Linked DNA regions of Homo sapiens: regions 2, 3 and 4 are each linked to region 1. The links are contacts of gene promoters, found by promoter capture Hi-C in blood cells and fetal thymus (Javierre and others, 2016). All regions are on one chromosome and are shown on one strand. The core of a region is centred on a gene start or on the middle of the fragment in contact, and the rest is flanking DNA. Distances in the headings are between cores, read along the strand shown. Region 1 holds the start of BPIFA1 (BPI fold containing family A member 1). Region 2 overlaps EFCAB8 (EF-hand calcium binding domain 8). Region 3 overlaps EFCAB8 (EF-hand calcium binding domain 8). Region 4 overlaps EFCAB8 (EF-hand calcium binding domain 8).

The links. Contacts are between HindIII fragments. The CHiCAGO score rates a contact against its expected background, and 5 or more counts as called.
Region 2: a fragment that was not itself captured here is called in contact with the fragment with the promoter of BPIFA1 in region 1 in 1 of 17 cell types (endothelial precursors); the score reaches 5.5 in endothelial precursors.
Region 3: a fragment that was not itself captured here is called in contact with the fragment with the promoter of BPIFA1 in region 1 in 2 of 17 cell types (M1 macrophages and naive B cells); the score reaches 5.7 in M1 macrophages.
Region 4: a contact is called between a fragment that was not itself captured here and the fragment with the promoter of BPIFA1 in region 1, in 6 of 17 cell types (M1 macrophages, M0 macrophages, endothelial precursors and 3 more). The highest score is 6.8, in M1 macrophages.

Annotation. Positions count from the first base shown.
Region 1 is chr20:33,234,701-33,237,813 of GRCh38, forward strand. It overlaps BPIFA1 (BPI fold containing family A member 1), which reads left to right and starts at 1,296. Exons shown (of 9, transcript NM_130852.3): 1 at 1,296-1,350; 2 at 2,997-3,113. The coding sequence starts at 3,012. The HindIII fragment of the contact is 3,888 bases long and covers 1-3,113 here.
Region 2 is chr20:32,942,939-32,946,062 of GRCh38, forward strand. It overlaps EFCAB8 (EF-hand calcium binding domain 8), which reads left to right. Exons shown (of 27, transcript NM_001143967.2): 23 at 698-866. Among named protein-coding and RNA genes, the nearest start is that of SUN5, 60 kb to the right of the region's middle. The HindIII fragment of the contact is 334 bases long and covers 1,621-1,954 here.
Region 3 is chr20:32,895,891-32,899,113 of GRCh38, forward strand. It overlaps EFCAB8 (EF-hand calcium binding domain 8), which reads left to right. Exons shown (of 27, transcript NM_001143967.2): 10 at 564-637; 11 at 2,603-2,733. Among named protein-coding and RNA genes, the nearest start is that of EFCAB8, 39 kb to the left of the region's middle. The HindIII fragment of the contact is 5,318 bases long and covers 1-3,223 here.
Region 4 is chr20:32,921,719-32,924,561 of GRCh38, forward strand. The region is part of intron 20 of EFCAB8 (EF-hand calcium binding domain 8); the gene reads left to right. Among named protein-coding and RNA genes, the nearest start is that of EFCAB8, 64 kb to the left of the region's middle. The HindIII fragment of the contact is 1,581 bases long and covers 663-2,243 here.

The DNA.
Region 1 (3,113 bases), core at 46-2,545:
AACCTGGAAAGACTTTTCCAGGACCTAAAAGAGAAGCGGCGGGGCACTGTGGCTCACGCCTGTAATCCCAGCACTTTGGGAGGCTGAGATAGGTGGATCACCTGAGGTCAGGAGTTCGAGGACAGCCTGGCCAACATGGTGAAACCCCATCTCTACTAAAAATACAAAAACTTTGCCAGGCATGGTGGCGCTCGCCTGTAGTCCCAGCTGCTCAGGAGGCTGAGGCAGGAGAATCACTTGAACCCGGGAGGTGGAGGTTGTCATGAGCTGAGATCACACCACTGCACTCTAGCCTGGGCGACAGAGTAAGACTGTCTCAAAAAATAAAATAAAATAAAAATTAAGTGAAAATTTAAAAAATAAAAAGGGACGCATGAAAGTGTAAAGTTCACAGGTGGGGAAATCAAAATGGCCAGCAAGTGTTGGGAGGCACCTTCATCTCTCAGTGCAGTGATTCGGGGAAAGGACCTGAATGTGGATGTCTCACCCCAGGCAAGCACTGCATCTCTGGACAACTTGCCTCACACTCAGCCTCAGTTTCCCCCTTATAGAATAGGAGTACAGGGTTGTGAGGATTTTGTGAGATGCTGCCTGTGAACACCATGGCAGGCCAGGCATACAGCAGGAGCTCGGCCAGTGTCTGCTGTTGGCGTTGTTTTTGTTGTTTTCATTCTCCAGTCAGTTGCATTCTAACTCTGCTGCATCCTCTCTGGGTCTTTCAGCACTTGTCCCCACTGGATCTCAGTTTCCTCCTCTATAAAAGAGGAGGAGTCACCTCTCCCTCTCAGGGTTCTTGTGAGGACAGAGAGCTCCTGACGTGCAATAGGGGCTCTGAAAACAGGAGACCCTTGCCCTGGAATGGAGACGCACCCCAGATGTAGGATGCAGTGTGACTCTTTTGACATTTTAGGAGAAAGAATCCTCCAACTGGAGCAAAAAAATTAGAGCAGGAGAGGAAAGGGGCCAAGAGATGAGACTGAGGTCCCTTCCTGGGCTCTGTCTGGCTGCTCCTTTCAATGCTCCAAGCTACCTTGGGAGCGTGGGTCCCCAACCTTGGCTCCGCTCAGGAAACCATAAAGTCTTGAGTAACATCCCATCTCAGGTTTTTCTCTGTTTATCTTGTTGACCAAATAGCTTAACTGTCTCACCTGCTAATGTGATTGGCAATTATTTACTTTGGAGAGCCCTGAAAGACACTGTCAGATTGCAGAATTCTCAATTATCTAGAAACCCATCACCCAACACATGCTTCCTCGTCCCCATACTATAAAAGAGGCTGACTCCTCGGCAGAAGTGAGTGGGGGAGAGAGAGGAGACCAGGACAGCTGCTGAGACCTCTAAGAAGTCCAGGTAAGAGCCATCCATTCTGTGGCCCCTCTGCTACCCTTAACGGCAGGGATCTCAGGCTCCTGCCCTGTGGGGCAGTGAGTGATCTTGATCACTCACTGGGGGCTGTGCAAGAGAAACAGACCTGGCCAATGTCAGGGATGTGGGGATGGCCATTTGCTCTGCTGTCCTAAGAGACCAGTAACATTGATATAGAAATGGGCACTATTAATGCCGTAAATGAAAGCCTCTAAGGCATAAGTTTTAGCTTGAGGTTACCAATGTGGATACAGATGATCCAAAAACCTCCTAAAATTCTTCACCCAATTTTATACATTTTGATGCATTTTTTCTGAGACTAGGATCTTTAGCTTCCATTGGATTCATAAAGGGTCTGTTGCCCAAAAGAGATTCAGAGGCTGTGGTCAAAGTTACCTCCCTAAGAAGGGCACAACTGGCTCTTTGGACCAAAGACCTTTCATTTCCAGCCTTCCACCACAAGGATGGAGCTTTAGCTGAGTCAGCCAATAGATGGAATTTTGCACAAAGTCACCAGTTGTCTCCAAATTGTAGGTACTAGTGCTGGCTCTGGACAACTCTGCTGGCTGCCAAATAGACCTGTGAGAGGTCTGCAAGCCAAACCTCAGGGGTTGACCGGAATTCCATCCAGGGCAGCTTGAAGGAGAAGAGAAAGGTGTCAAAATGATAGAATGCATGTTTGTGTGTTGGGTGAGGGGAGGGTTGGGAGACCTGCCTTCAACCACAGCTCTGCCATCAATTTATTGTATGACCTTGGGAAAGTCACTACCCCTCTTTGGTCTCCTGGTTCTTCTCATGCAATGAAGACTTTGATGGCCCCAGGAATTCCCCAACAAAGGTCTACATGAGATGGTGGCTGTGGCCATGCGACCCCTGTATTGTGTGACTTTCAAGGGCATCCACCAACCATCATGGCCTGAGCTCAGGCCAAAGGACTGAACAGGGATGATCTAAAACAGTTCAATTCTTCAGCACTTGCACGTTTAACCCTTCTCATTTGCTTTGTCTGAAGAGCAGCAATGATTCAAACCATTGAAGCAAGCCCGATTGGAGAATAAATCTGATGGTTACTTAATTTAACCGAGGGTTCACCTGGCTCTAGCTTCTAATCCTCTGTCCACCGTGTACTTGTGACCTTGGGGAAAGTTACCCACACTCGGTAGTACACAAGTGGGTTTCAAGAAGGGATGGGAGTATATTTGAAACTCCCAACTGCAAACTCACTTGACCTCTGTGAGCCTTGGTTTCTCCTACTGGAAAATCAGACAAGTGAACTGTGGGCAAGATGGAGTGAGGTGAGGCTGGGATTCTTGGCAAGAAGGAAAAAAACCCTCTTCTTTGGAATGTGGTGGAGTGGGGCTGTCTCCTTTTTAGGCCCCTGATCAGTGGTCCTCACCTGTGCAATGCAGGTAACAGGTGCCCATGTCTTAGGGTTGTGATGAAGATGAAATTGTGTAAAGTGGTCAGCCTGTTGCCTGGCAAAGAGAAATTGTTCAGCAGTATTAGCTATTACTAGTGACCCCCTGGTGTTCTGGGGAGCAAACAACCCCACCCCCCAGGTGTCAGGGCAGGTGGTGGATAAATTCCTCTCTGATACCCATGCCATGTTGGACTTGTCATTCTGGCCACAGATACTAAGAGCAAAGATGTTTCAAACTGGGGGCCTCATTGTCTTCTACGGGCTGTTAGCCCAGACCATGGCCCAGTTTGGAGGCCTGCCCGTGCCCCTGGACCAGACCCTGCCCTTG
Region 2 (3,124 bases), core at 538-3,037, 290 kb before region 1:
GAGCTTTCTATTGTCTTCCATTGCTTTGTTTAAAATTTAAAGTTTATTATTCTGACTTTCCATACTTGAATATGGTCGAATAAGTCCTCCTTTATTAATCTTGTTTTATTTAAAAATGGTCATTTTCACTCATTTTCCAGTTCAGTAGTTTTATTCTCTCAGTGTAATGTGATTTATCACCCCATTGCTCACCCTATTCATCTCCCAATACCCAGCTGAAAAACTTTAGAAGACTGAGGCTCTTGCCCTGGCCCCATCACTTTCTAGCTATGTGGGCTTAGGCTAGTTATTGAACATGTCTGACTCTCACTTTTCTCCTCTGTAAGTCAGTGAGAATTATATACTTCTTATAAGGTTGTGAGGTTCAAATGGAATAATGTGTACAGAGGCACTTGGTAAACAATGTAGTCATATGCAAGTCATATGCAAGTCATATGTAGTCAGCTTGGTGAATTTTGAGAAAGTAAATGCAAGTTCTTTTTATGGTTTTACCTAAGGGGCCAGTGAGGGCCAGAGAAGTGCCGGGACCTATGTAAGGTCGCAAGCAAGTTCATGTGGAATGCATCTAGAACTAGAACGCTAGCCTGTGTCCCAGGGCCCTTCCAACTGGGCTCTGCTGCCTGCAGTCCTGGGTGCCTTCTAATTAGCCTGTGTAGTGGTCTTGGTAAAAGTGTTTCTCCTGTACTGTCCCCTATAGGTTGTGGCTGGCCATACCATTTCCCTGGTTCCCCCCACGCTCCTGATGACCTGGAAAGGCCATTTGAATAGTGTGGCAGACATCCTGTATGTGGACAACTTCCAGCTGGTTATCAGCGCTGGCCAGGACCGGGACGTCAAGGCTTGGAAACTCTCCGGTGATGCCATTGGTATGGGTCCTGCTGAAGCTCAGCCATGCCCATGGCCCTTCTTGTCTCTGTCCCTGTCTGAACATAAGCTGGTATGAACTTTGTACTCTGTGGGGAGGGACTCTCAGGCCACAGCAACTGCCTTCACTTAAATAATATTACAGTCTGTCCAATTATCCATTCAGCAAACGGTCCATCCATTCACCCATCCACCCAATATTATTCACCTATGTATATTTTTGCAAATCATATATCTGATAAAGCATATTCCTTTCTCTTTTAAAAAATAAACTTAATTGTTGCATTGTATATAAAGAAAAACATACAAACCAGAAGGGTTCAGCTTGGTGAATTTTGAGAAAGTAAATACATACCCATATAGCCACCGTTCATGTCAAGAAATAATTAGGGCCAGGCGCGGTGGCTCACTACTGTAATCCCAACACTTTTTTGTCCCCTTTTCCTCCTGTGCTGTCTTCCTATGTGTTTGTTTGTTTGTTTTAGTGACCTGTCTCTACTAAAAATACAAAAATTAGCCAGGCATGGTGGTGCATGCCTGTAATCCCAGCTACTTGAGAGGCTGAGGCAGGAGAATCGTTTGAACCTGGGAGGCAGAGGTTGCAGTGAGCTGAGATCATGTCACTGCACTCCAGCCTGGGCAACAGAGTGAGACTCTGTCTAAAAAAAAAATAATAATAAAAATAAAGTGACTTATGTGCCACTATTACAGTATTACAGCATTCTGTATTTTTCTATGTGTTTACATTTATCAGAAAGCTTTGTATTTTCATATGCTTTCATGTTCCTGCCTAGCATCCTTTTGTTTCAACTTGAAGGGGTCCCTTTAGCATTTCTTTAAAGGCAGGTCTAATGGTGATGAACTCCTCTTGTTTTTATTTATCTGGGAAAATTTTTATTTTTCCTTCATTTTTAAAGGACAGCTTTCCTGGATATAGTATTTTTGGATGAGAGTTTTTGTTCTTTTTATAATGTGTCTCCTTGTGGATTTCTTTGACTTTATCCTAGTTGGAATCCCTTGAGCTTCTTGAATATAGGTTTCTTTTCCTTTTTAAGATTTGAAACATTTTCAGCCATTATTTATTCAGATAAGCTTTTTGTCCCTTTCTCTCTCTCTGTCTCTCTCTCCTCCTTCTAGTACTACCATAATGCATATATTGTCCATTTGACGATGTCTCATAAATCCCTTAAGTTTTCTTTACTCTTTAAAATTCTTTTTTCTTTTTTGCTTCTCTGACTGGATATCTTCAAGTCTGCTGATTTTTCCTTCTGCTTGATCAAGCCTGCTGTAGATGACTTTTGAATTCAATTATTTTACTCTTCATCTTCAGCTCTAGAATTTCTGTTATTTTTATTATTATTATTATTATTTTTTGAGACAGGGTCTTGCTCTGCCACCCAGGGTTGAGTGCAGTGGCACGAATTCAGCTCACTGAAGCCTTGACCTCCCAGCCTCAAGTGATCTTCCCACAGCCTCCTGAGTAGCTGGGACTACAGGTGCATGCCATCATGCCTGGCTAATTTTTTGTATTTTTTGTAGAGACAGAGTTTCACCATGTTGCCCAGGCTGGCCTTGAATTCTTGAGCTCAAGTGATCGCCCACCTAAGCTTCCCAAAGTGTTGGGATTATAGGTGTGGGCCACCATGGCTGGCCTCTGTTTGGTTCTTTTCTATATTTTCTGTGTCTTCACTAATATTCTCAGTTTGTTCATGTATTGTTTCCCTGAGCTTGTTGAGCATTTTTATTACGGTTACTTAGAATTCTTTGTCAAATAATTAATATACCTCAATTTCTTTAGCGGCAGTTTCTGGAGATTTATTTTGTTCCTTTGGGCCATGCTTTCCTATTTTTTTTGTGTGCCTTATAACTTTATATTGGGATCCATGCATTTGTAAAATCAGCCACCTCTCCCAGTCTTTATATACTGGCTTCATTCAGGGAAAATTCTGCACCAATCAGCTTGGCTAAAGATTCTGGGTGCCTCCCCAATCTTTTTTGTGGATACTTTCACCAGACTTACGCATGTAAATTCGCAATTACAGGAATCTACAGGTTTATTTTTTTCAGGAGTCCATTATCTCTTGCTCTCTCTGGTGTCTATTTGCAGTACTGCAAGTTCTCTAGAGCGGCTACAAGCTTCCCCCAGGCCTCTAGAATATGCTGGGTCCTTCAATAGTCTGAGAGAGGCAAGACAGAAACCAGTTTCTTGGGTACCCCTCAAAGGCTAACATTGGATATGTATGCTCCAAATCTGCCTCCT
Region 3 (3,223 bases), core at 476-2,975, 340 kb before region 1:
TGGCCTCAAGTGACCTTCCCACCTGAGCCTCCTAAAGTGCTGGGATTACAGGTGTGAGCCACTGCGCCTGGCCCAGACATGCTTATTTTATGATGCATGCCTGGAACTTCTACTTTTTGGAACCTGTGCTTTCTGGACAAGGGGTGCATGTAGTTTGAGGCATGATGGCAAACTCCCAAGTGATTACTTTTCAGAACAAAAAGAGCCTAGAGTCTCAATTCCTTCTCCACTCCAGCAAAGATGGAGCTCCCTAATGAAGAATTAGCTTGTTTAGATTGCAGCACCTAGGAAGCGTGAGGTGCCCTGAAATCTGGTTCTAGTTCTGCCATGCACTGGCAGGGGCACTCTGGGAGGCAGCAGTGATCTGCCTGAGTCTTTTTCCTGGGGTGGGGGCACTCCGCTCAGCTCACCAGGACACAGTGAGGTGCCAGTGAGGGTTTGGGTGGAAAAGCCTTTTGAGAAGCACAGGAGTTGCAAGCCAACTCAAGACGTCTTCTGAGGCTTTGCTTGCCAAGCGAAGGGGGAAAGCTGCTGATGTGGACCTTGGTTTTTTCCCCTATCAGATCACTGGATCAAAGTTTCCTTGCAGAAACTCTTAAATGAGAAGTCTGCTTTGCATAGAAGCTACCGGCTGAAGGTGAGTTTTTTCTTTCCTTGGCCTGTTACAATGGTAATTATCTGTACACACACACCACTCAAAATAAATGCAAAAAGTGGATTTACTCCCTGGGTTCAGTCTTAGCCCTTGGGGTTTGGTCTCTGGAAACAGGTTGCGGCAGCTGTTGGATCCCGTCAGCTCTATCTGCAGACCACATCTCTGTGGCCATGCCCCTCTCACTACCGCCATTGCTAAGCCCTGGTCCTGGCCGACACCGCCTCGCTCCTGGATGGCTGCAGTGGCCTCTAGCTGGGTTCCCCACTTCCTTTCTTCATGCAGCACTGTCTCCATTCAGGGCCAGAGGAATGATGAGTTAGAAATACAGTTGAGTCACCCCGGTAGCTTCTCATCACATTTGGAACAAAATCTCAAGTCCTTACCATGGCCGTCAGGACGTGAGGTGATCTGGCTCCTGCTTGCAAGCTCTGGGCTTGTTTTCAACCTTCCTTCTCCCCATCTGCTCTCCTGCAGAGACGCAGGCTCCTCTGCTGTTCCCTGAATGGGCTCAGCCCCTTCCCGCCTCTGTGCCTCGGCATGTGCTGCGCCTTCAGGCCGCGGGGCTCTCCCCTAAGGTACCTGTATTCCCCCTATCTACTTCCTGTGGTCCCAAGCAGCCCTCCTAGGACAACCCTGTGCCCACCTCTGCTTTCATCCCTTCACCCGCAGTGTTTACCAGCTCCCAGCTTTGTGTGGTCCGACCATTGATTCCTCATGCTGTCACCTTCACGAGATCGACAGCTCCTCAACGGCAGCGGCTTCGTGCTCTCGGTTGTCTCCAGTGCCTAAAATAGTACCCTGCGCTTGGTGGGCTCCCAATACATTTGCTGCACAAATGAATGAATGAATGACGCACTCAGGGCGGTCTGGGTGATCCAACAGGCCTGCACTGACTTTTTTTTTTTTTTTTTGGTTGAGTCAGGGCCTTACTCTGCTGCCCTGGCTGGCATGCAGTGGTGCGATCATGGCTCACTGCAGCCTTGACCTCCCGGGCTTAGGTGATCCTCCCACCTCAGGCCCCCGAGTAGCTGGGAATACAAGCACCACACCCAGCTAATTTTTTAATTCTTTTTTTGAGACGGGGCCTCACTATGTTGCCCAGGCTGGTCTACCTACCTTGGCCTCCCAAAGTGCTGGGTTTACAGGTGTGAGCCACTGCACCCGCTCTTCTGTCTTCTGTGGGAAGCTCATCTTGGGCTTGGTTTTCCCTCCAGGTCTCACTCAGTGTCTTGGATTCGGTGCCTTCATTGCGACAGATGCTTGGTGACAGTGTGTGTAAAACCCAGCTCAGGGTCTTGCATGTAGAAAGCACCAAAGAAATATTTGATGAGCCAATCTCTCCAACCCGCCTTTTCCATTCTCGTCACAGAGAGGAAAATCTCTAGATTGGGAGGCCAAGCACTGGTCCAGGTCACAGAGTTGGCGCCGGAGAATTCAGAGCCCAGCCAGCCCCTTCGACTGCGCGTCATCTTTTGTGGTTCAAGTTGCCGTGAAATGCACATTCTCATGCCCTCCGCGCTTCCTTGAGCACTCCACGCTATGACAAACATGGAGGGTGGCAGTGGGCTGGGAGCACAGCCCATCTGTAGAGGGGGCTCCCTGTGGATAACTAGATTGTGGCCTGGACAGACTTGAATTCATCCTTTCTCTCCTCGTGGGAGATGATTAGTATGGGCCTGACCTTCCCCATCCTCTAACTCACAAGATTTCAAATGAAAGTAGGCTTGTGTGCTTTTAAAAATTTTCAGTGACGAGAGATGGCCAGTGCTGGTCATAGGACCTGGGCTAGGATTGCGGGGCCACATCACTTTGTGATCACTAGGAGAAGGGCATTAGACTCCGTGATCTCTGGGCACCTCCAGTCCCAGCACCTGGTCATGTTCTGGGGGCTGGGCCTAGAAAGTTGTCCTTGGGTGGAGTCTCCCACCATTGCTACTGTCTTCCCAGGCTCTCCATCCCAACTGGTGTGAGCAGGTCAAGTTCATCCCCCAGATGAATGTGGTAGTCTCCTGTTCAGCCATCGAGAAGTCCTCTCTGGTGCTGACAATATTGCCAGCCAAAGCCTCTAAGAAACCCAGGTAAGAAGTGCTTCTCTCCTGGCTAAGGCGGTGGGGCTGGAAGGGAGGGGGGTGGTGAGTGGACCATGGGGGCTGACAGTGGCAGATGGTGGTTGGTGTATGGACTCTGGGGTTTAGTTTTTCCAGCATTGCCAGCAGCAGCACGGTGAGAACACAGCAGCCTCTTTTATCTCCCAATCTATATGCAAAACTCAGCATAGAAGCCAGCACAGAGTGATTGGCAGTCAGTGAAATGTTTTCTGAATGAAGGGATGACTGTGAGTTACTTTCTCCTCTGTGACCCTCAGTTCCCTCATCTGTGAAAGGGTGTGAAAGCACGTACCTCACTTCCTGAAGGGTTGCATGAGGGAATCCTCTGTGGTATGTGTTCAGTAACTGGCAGCATTGGTTCTTTGCAGATGGTTCCAATCTGTTTCCTTCAGTCTAGATTCCTCTACCCTAGAGTGAAGTTTTTTCTTTTCTTTTGAAAAACTAGTTAGTCACCGGGCGC
Region 4 (2,843 bases), core at 203-2,702, 310 kb before region 1:
TAATATAAAATGATAGCTATGTCCTGCCATATGCTTTTTTCTGTAAGTCTATAGCATGGATATACTTTCATGAGAGGGATTTAGATTCATCTTATTCTTTTGTTACCTTATTCTTTTTTTTTTTTTTTTTGAGACGGAGTCTTGCTCTGTCACCCAGGCTGGCGTGCAGTGTTGCGATATCAGCTCACTGCACCTCTGCGTCCTGAGTTCAAGTGATTCTCCTGCCTCAGCCTCCAGAGTAGCTGGGACCATAAGCATGTGCCACCATGCCCAGCTGCTTTTTTATTTCTAGTAGAGTCGGGGTTTCACCATGTTGGCCAGGCTGGTCTTGAACTCCTGACCTCAGGTGATCCACTGGCCTCGGCTTCCCAAAGTGCTGGGATTACAGGCATTAGCCACCACACCTGGCCATCTTATTCTTTTTAACAACTGCCCACTGCTGCATAACTTGGATGCATCAGGAACTGTGAAGCTGGTCCTCTATGAATAGGTCTGTGGGTTAGTTCCAGTTTTTAGCTTTTAGGAGCAGCACTGCATTGAACATTCTTGCACGTACATTTCTGGGCACTAGTGTGAGTATATTGAGAGGACGGATTCTTGGAAACAGAATTGCCAACAGATCCCATCTCTTTAAATCTGTGAAGTCAAGGTAGATGGCTCAAAGCTTGATCTTTTGGGCTAGTGACCTAGTGCTGTCAGGACACAGGCATTCGCTACATGCCAGCCGCTGGGGAAGGAGCAGTGAATGAAAGATATCAAGCCCCTGACCTCTGGAGCTGTCATTCTAGTTGGGGCAAGATAGACAATTAACCAGCAAATAAAATAAAGGGCATGTCACAGAGTGAGTGAGGACAATGGAGGACAAGAAAGCCGGGAAGATGGCAGGGAGAACAGACATGGGAGGAGATGGCATTGCTGTTTTATGAATAGGCTGGTCAGGGAGGGCTTCACAGAGGAGGTGGCATCTGCATAGAGCCTGAAGGAAGCGAGGAAACATGGCCTGCAGTTATTTGGAAGGAGGGTGATGCAGGCAGAGAAGGTAGGTGCAAGGGCCCACATGGGAGAGCTGGCATGGAATGTTCGAGAATGAGTACTTCTCTCTCTCTCTCTGTATCTCTCTCTGATACTTTCTTCCTCTAATTAGAAAGTGATACATGTCCTTAATTAAAACTAAAAAAATTCAGGCCAAGAGCAGTGGCTCACATCTGTAATCCCAGTCCTTTAGGAGGCCAAAGTGGGAGGACTGCTTGAGCCCAGGAGTTCTAGACCAGCTTGGGCAACATGATGAGACCTCATCTCTACAAAAAATTAAAAAAATTAGCCAGGTTTGATAGTGTGCACGGTGCACCCAGCTCCTTGGGAGGCTGAGTTGGGAGAATCACTTGAGTCTGGGAGGTCAAGGATGCAGTGAGCTGTGATTGTGCCACTGCACTCCAGCCTGGGCAACACAGCTAGACCTTGTCTCTTAAACAAACAAACAAACCTGGCCCAGTGCGATGGCTCACACCTGTAATCCTAGCACTTTGGGAGGCTGAGGTGGGCAGATTGCCTGAGCTCAGGAGTTCGAAACCAGCCTGGGCAACACGGTGAAACCCCGTCTCTACTAAAATACAAAAAATTAGCCAGGGGTGGCAGCATACTCCTGTAGTCCCAGCTAGTCGGGAGGCAGAGGCAGGAGAATTGATTGAACCCGGGAGGCGGAGGTTGCAGTGAGCTGAGATCGTGCCACTGCACTCCAGCCTGGGTGACACAGTGAGATTCGCCTCCAAAACAACACCACCACCACCACCTATGAAAAAAAATGAAACTTTATACGAGTGTATAAAGTAAAAGAATGGCTGTCTCCCTCCTCAGCCTCCAGAGGTAATTACGTTAAGACATGTGTTGTAGCCTTCTAGAATTTTTTTGTGCATATACAAGTACATACATGTATGAATGTATATATATAAATCTAGATATTTTTCACTGGATAATATCATATTGCATGTATTATTCCGGGACTTGCTGTTTTTCACTTGACTCCTCACGGGCATCTCTTCATGACGGTGTTTACGGAGCCATGGCATTCCTTTTACTAGTCACATCATGTCCTGGGTACACTGCACAGAGTCTGTATAGCTATCTGCTGCCGCTGGGTTTTGCCTCTATAGAAAGCATTGCAATGAATACCCTTGTACATAAATTTTGGATCTCTTGTCTATTTCCAGATATAAAACTCTAGGATTAGAAACATACTCCTGGAAAGCTTTTGCTATCTTGCATTATGTTTCAGTGGTAGCTAGTAATTATTGAGCTCTCAATATCTGCCAGACAATGAACTTAATGGTTTACATGTGTTATTTTTTGTTTTTTGAGACAGAATCTCAGCTCTCTTGTCCAGGCTGGAGTGCAGTGGCACAATCACAGCTCATTGTAGCCTCCACTTCCCAGGCTCAAGCGATTCTCCCACCTCAGCCTTCTGAGTATTAATAGCTGGGACCACAGGTGTGTGCTACTGTGCCTGGCTCATTAAAAAAATATATATTTATAGAGATGGAGTCTCCTTATGTTGCCCAGGCTAGTCTTGACCTTCTGGGCTCAAGCGATCCTCCTGCCTTGGCCTCCCAAAGTGCTGGGATTACAGGCATAAGCCACCATGCCCAGCTACATGTGTTGTTTTTATTTTGTCCATCAAACAGCCCTGGGAAGTATGTACTATTATTATTTATTTATGAGGGATTTTTATTTATTTAATACATCTGAAAAGAATGTATGTGAAAAGAATGTTTAATACATCTGAAAAGAATGTACTATTATTATTATTCCCATTTTATGGCTGAAGAAACAGGCCCAATGAGGTGAAG